Linked DNA regions of Homo sapiens: region 1 is linked to region 2. The links are contacts of gene promoters, found by promoter capture Hi-C in blood cells and fetal thymus (Javierre and others, 2016). All regions are on one chromosome and are shown on one strand. The core of a region is centred on a gene start or on the middle of the fragment in contact, and the rest is flanking DNA. Distances in the headings are between cores, read along the strand shown. Region 1 overlaps TNS3 (tensin 3). Region 2 holds the start of LINC00525 (long intergenic non-protein coding RNA 525).

What was found. The method cuts DNA at HindIII sites, captures the fragments that hold promoters and counts their contacts. A CHiCAGO score of 5 or more calls a contact.
Region 1: a contact is called between a fragment that was not itself captured here and the fragment with the promoter of LINC00525 in region 2, in 6 of 17 cell types (naive B cells, total B cells, M0 macrophages and 3 more). The highest score is 14.0, in naive B cells.

Annotation. Positions count from the first base shown.
Region 1 is chr7:47,458,082-47,461,249 of GRCh38, forward strand. The region is part of intron 4 of TNS3 (tensin 3); the gene reads right to left. Among named protein-coding and RNA genes, the nearest start is that of SNORD151, 5.1 kb to the right of the region's middle. The HindIII fragment of the contact is 3,156 bases long and covers 1-3,025 here.
Region 2 is chr7:47,759,767-47,762,800 of GRCh38, forward strand. LINC00525 (long intergenic non-protein coding RNA 525) reads left to right here and starts at 1,710. Exons shown (of 3, transcript NR_038407.1): 1 at 1,710-1,747. The HindIII fragment of the contact is 4,383 bases long and covers 707-3,034 here.

The sequences.
Region 1 (3,168 bases), core at 198-2,697, 300 kb before region 2:
CCACATACATGACGTTTACACTACACAGAAACATGGGTGATCTTACTCAATTTCTTACAGGTGAGGAAATAATGTCCTTGGTATCTAACTGACCCGTTCAAGGTCATCTGGTTAGTCAGCTGAGGCCACGTCTGCCCAGGATGAGTGCTCTAGGCCAGGGCCCACGGGCTCCTCCCAACTCCCACACACACACGCCATGGGACAGTCACCTGGGGCTCTGCCAAAGGGCAGCTTCACTAGCTGAGCACAGGGCATCCATTTCCCTTTTAAACATGGGGACAGATGTGTCCTCTAACCTCTGAGGCTTCCATCTGGAAGTGCCTCATGAGTCAGTGGCTCACATTTAGAACAGCTGTGCCTCCTGGATGCCCCAACCTTTTTTCTCCCTCATTTCTATCCCAGAGAGATTAGATGTCCTGTACAAATTGGATCTGAAAATGATAATAAAATAAAATGTAATATAAAACAAGATGAAATAAAATCAGTCTGCGCTGGGATGAGCTGTGAAAAACGGGGCTGCTCAAGCCACCTCCTGTGAGCACAAGCCAACCACAGACGAAGCCTTCTGCATGAGGAACAAGCAGTCCCCCCATCCCTTCCCGCAGGTGCAGGCTTGCAGCTCGGGAGTCAGACCCCAGGCATGTAGGTCCCAGGCCATCTGAGGAGCCTGTGTAGACCCCTGTGGCTGAAGAGCAGGGCCTCACTGCCCTTGAGAGGCTAGCTCTGAGAACCAGCTTTTTAAATAACAAGTACCACCTACTTTCATTCTTATGATAAAAGTTACTTGGTTATAGAAAATTCAGAAAGTAGACATATACAAAAAGAAGCAGACAGAATCAGCCTCTCTCTCCCTCCCATACCCCAAGATAACCAACTTTAGCCAGATAGGATGGACCCCTAAATAAGTACGGGCGACTTTCTTCCGCCCATACTTATTTAAAAGCCAAATGGTGCTTTATGTCCATATCACTATATTTTCTTCTGCACTGCAATTTTTAACAGTGGCATAGTACCCAATTATCCAGATGGAACATAATCCCTCTTTAACAGCATGTTTTTTGGTCTCAAATTTCCCACTCTTATGAATGATGCTATGAGAAACATTCTATAGTTTAAAATGTTAACATCCTTAGTGGCTGCCTCGGGATAAACACCCAGAGATGCCATGTGCTTTGGGGTCCACATCACTAGGACTTCCTCTAGAAAGTGCTGTGACTTCCAGGACCACATGCATCATCCCAGAGAAGAGGAAACATACAAAACATGAAACCCATTCCATCTTTTTCTATTTAAGCATATTTTATCCCCTTTCCAAAAAAGAAACTATCTTGTCAAAGGTAAAGAGACTTGAAGTGTCTGGATAGTTATGAAACCAGTGTCCCAGAGAACACAGCAGAGGAGAAAACGGCACCTCCAAACCTCTCTGCAAGCACCTTCATCCCCTCCCAGGTCAGTCTCAGGCCCCAAGTGGACTATGCCACTGGAGTGTCCTAGAATGTAAATTCCCCCACAAGAGAACCACGGCAGGCCTCCATATCCCCACACAGGGCCCAGTGTCTGGTGCATCAGAGGTCCCCAGGACATAAATATTTATAAACTGATTGATTAATGAAGGAGGGGCAGGGCAGTGGAAGAGAGGACTCATCTGTTCCATAATCAAGACCATAACTTCAAGTTTATGATTTATTACCCACCATATCTGGCAAAGGTAGCACCGTCCTCCTCCCCACTGGAGACTGACAAAATGCCTGGTACCATCTGTTAATGGATGAAATGCATTCCCACAAACATCCATATGTTGAAGTCCTAGTGCCCAGGACCTCAGAGGGTGACAGTTTGGAAACAGGATCTTTAAAGAAGTGATTAAGTTAAAATGACACCATTAGGGTGGCCCTAATCCAGTATGAGTGGTGTCTTTATAAAAAGAGGAGATTATCCTGGCTAACACGGTGAAACCTCGTCTCTACTAAAAATACAAAAAATTAGCCATGCATGGTGGCGGGCTCCTGTAGTCCCAGCTACTCGGGAGGCTGAGGCAGGAGAATGGCGTGAACCTGAGAGGCGGAGCTTGCAGTGAGCCGAGATCGCACCACTGCACTCCAGCCCGGGCGACAGAGCAAGACTCTGTCCCAAAAAAAAAAAAAAAAAAAAAAAAAGAAGAGGAGATTAGGACACAGACACACATAGAGGGGCAGCCATGTGAGGACACAGGGAGAAAACGGCCACCTACAAGCCAATGAGAAAGCCCTCAGGAGAATCCAACCCTGCAGACACCCTCATCTCAGCCTTCCAGCCTCCAGGACTGAGGGTGATAACCGCCCATTGCTGCAGCTGCCCCGCACGGTGGTGCTTTGTCTTGGCAGCCTAAGCTGACTAAGACGACATCTGAAAGCTCTGAGATGCCTGGTGGGTGTTTGGGAAATGCTGCTGCCAGGAGCAACCTTCAGCTCCCAGGATGGGCAGGTGGCCTGGAGATGCTCACCTGCCGCCCTGCGCTCCCCTCACTTCACCCTCTCCTGGCAGGAAGCCAGGCTGACTGTGAACAGCAGCAATAAAGCAAGGAGTGGCATAAGGTGTGGGGCCGGAATGGCCCCTAGCCACACGTGGAAACGTTGCCTCCTCCTCCTGAATGTGTTAAATAAAAGGGAGAGGCAGTGGGGAAAACAATCCAGTAAGTCAAGCTGGTTAATGTAACTAGGAAGATTGGGCAATTTGATGGGCATGCCAAAATATTGAAGGAGGAGGAACAGCAGGAGCATCAAGACACAAGATATCCAACTACTTTCAGCTCTTCCTCCACCTAGTAACTTCCAATAAAGCTGAAGGAGGATGTGCTCTAAACCAGAGAGGTTTTATGTGCATCATATACCTTAACATTACAGATCTATAGATCCCGCCATGAGAAAATAAGTTTATTGAGCAATTAACTTCAAAATTTATTTTCCAGCTGTTAGAATGTGTCCAGTCTCACTGACAATGCTGGAGTTGAAAAAAAACGGGAAAGAGCATATTCCCGCCTTTGGGAAGCTTACAGTGAGATGAGGGGACACAGGCAGGTGTAAACATAAGACAGTGAGCCCCGCATTAAGTGTTGTATGTCAAGAAATGAGTACATTGGAAGCTGAACCAGGCTGAGCAAAGCCACATTCATGTGTGAGTCTTTTCTGC
Region 2 (3,034 bases), core at 460-2,959:
CAGCAATATGCCATGTGAGGATTTTTTAATCCTTGAAAAGTTGGGTGAAGAGGATAAGATTTTTCGTATAAGATAATACAGGCTTCAAAAAGTTGGAAAAAGAGCACATTTAGAAAGTCCCAGAGCTGGGATTTGAACCCCTGTGCTTCTGATTCTAAATTGCTTCCCACCACGCTCATGGTGACCTCTAGAAGGTGTTAGTGAGGTGGAGATGTACCCGGTAATCCTGCCAGTGCATCTGTGCACTGATTCTCTATTGCTGGCTGTCCTTCTTGGCATCTTATTCAACAATAGCTACTGTAAGGGGGGAAATAGTCTTATATTTTGTGAAAGAACTCAAATGGCCAATTCATATATGGCCAGTTTACTTAAGAATGAATTACCGACCGGGCACAGTGGCTCATGCCTGTAATCCCAGCACTTTGGGAGGCTGAAGCGGGTGGATCCCCTGAGGTCAGGAGTTTGAGACCAGCCTGGCCAACATGGCAAAACCTCATCTCTACTAAAAATACAAAAATTAGCCGGGTGTGGTGGCTGGCACCTAAAATCCCAGCTACTTGGGAGGCTGAGGCAGAAGAATTGCTTGAACCCAGGGGGCGGAGGTTGCAGTGAGCCCAGATTGTGCCACTGCACTCCAGGCTGGGCAACGGAGCAAAAACAAAAAACAAAAAAGAATGAATTACCAGGCTCTAAAAACCTATCAGTAAGCTTTTTTTTTTTTTTTTTAAAGACGGAACTTGATGCTAAGGAAATTGCAACAACACAATGTCCTAATACACTGTTGACAAGATTAAAAAATTTTTTATTTTTAATTTTTGTGGGTACACAGTAGGGGTATATATTTATGGGGTACGTGGGATGTTTTAATACAGGCATGCAATGTGAAATAGGCACATCATGAAGAATGGGGTATCCATACCCTCAAGCATTTATTCTTTGTGGTATAAACAATCCAATTATACTTTTAATTATTTTAAAATGTACACTTAAATTATTATTGACTATAGTCTCCCTGTCGTGCTATCAAATAGTAGGTATTATTCATTCTTCTATTTTTTTTTTTGGTACCCATGAACCATTCCCACCTTATCTCCCCAGTCCTCTACTATCCTTTTCAGCCTCTGGTAATCATCCTTCCTATTCTCTATGTCCATGATTTCAATGGTTTCGATTTTTAGATCCCACAAATAAGTGAGAACATGTGATGTTTGTCTTTCTGTGCCTGGCTTATTTCACTTAACATAATGTCCTCCAGTTTCGTTCCATCCATGTTGTTGCAAATGACAGGATCTCATTCTTTTTATGGCTGAATAGTACTCCATTGTGTATATGTACCACATTTTCTTTATCTGTTCATCTGTTGATGGACTGTAAATTTGCTTCTAAGTCTTAGCTATTGTGAACAGTGCTGCAACAAACATGGGAGTGCAGATATCTCTTCAATATACTGATTTCCTTCCTTTTGGGTATAGACCCAGCACTGGGATTGCTGGATCATATGCTAGTTCTATTTTTAGTTTTTTGAGGAACCTCCCAACTGTTCTCCATAGTGGTTGTACTAATTTACATTCCCACTAACAATATACTAGTGTTCCCTTTTCTCCACATCCTCACCAGCATTTGTTATTGCCTGTCTTTTGGATAAAAGCCATTTTAACTGGGGTGAGATATCTCATTGTAGTTTTGATTTGCATTTCTCTGATGATCAGTGACGATGACCACCTTTTCATATGCCTGTTTGCCATTTGTAAGTCTTCTTTTGAGAAATATCTATTCATTTCTGATTTTTTATTTGGATTACTAGATTTTGATTTCTGATTGGATTACTAGATGTTTTCCTGTTGAGTTGTTTGAGCTCCTTATATATTCTGGTTATTAATTCCTTGTCAGATGGGTAGTTTGCAAATATTTTCTCCCATTCTGTGGGTTGTTTCTTCACTTTAAGAAGATCATTAATTGCCTTAATCATTCTAAAAAGTGATTTGGCAAATAAGGGTTGAATTGTGTCCCCCAAAATGTCTATGTCCAAGTCCTAACCCCTAGTACCTCAGAATGCAACTGCATTTGGAAACAGGGTTTTTGAAAATGTGATCAAATTAAAATGAGGTTATACTAGAGTAGAGTGGGCATGTAATCCAATATGACTCATCCAATATGACCGGTGTCCTTATAAAGAAGAGGAGATTTGGCTGGGCATGGTGGCTCATGCCTGTAATCCCAGCACTTTGGGAGGCCGAGGTGGGTGGATCACCTGAGGTCAGGAGTTCAAGACCAGTCTGGCCAACATGGAGAAACCCTATCTCTACTAAAAATACAAGAAAAAAAAATAGCTGGGCATGGTGGCAGGCACCTGTAATCCCAGCTACTTGGGAGGCTAAGGCAGCAGAATCGCTTGAACCCGGGAGGCAGAGGTTGCAGTGAGCCGAGATTGCGCCATTGCACTCCAGGCTGGGCAACAAGAGTGAAACTCCATCTCAAAAAAAAAATTAATAAATACATAAAAAATAATAAAAAGGGGAAATTTGGACCCAGACATGCCTGGAGGGAAGATGATGGGAAGAGACACAGAGAGAAGATGGTTGTCCTCAAGCCAAGGAGAGAGGCCTGCAACAGATTCTCCTTCAGCCTTTAGAAGGAACAACACTGCCAACACCTTGATCTTAGACTTCTGTCCTCCAGAAATTGTGAGACAATGCATTTTTGTTGTTTAAGGCAACCAATTTGTGGAACTTTGTTCTGGCAGCCCTAGCAAATGAATACAACAAAATATATACTGTATTGAGAACCTTAATATTGGCAATACCATTTGCACAGGAACTCCTTGCCTTTGGTTGCCACCTAAGAAATCATGCATATGGACATGGAATTACACATAAAGTATATTTAGCTAGTTTTTCTTCAACATGCTATTGCAGGAGGACAATTCAAAAATCTTTCCAACTCCCACCTGATTTCTGAAGGTTCTCTGGGAGCCTGCGCATCAGCCATCAAAACACACTTGTCACATTTTTCTTTCCTTTTGGCCTCCTTTAGT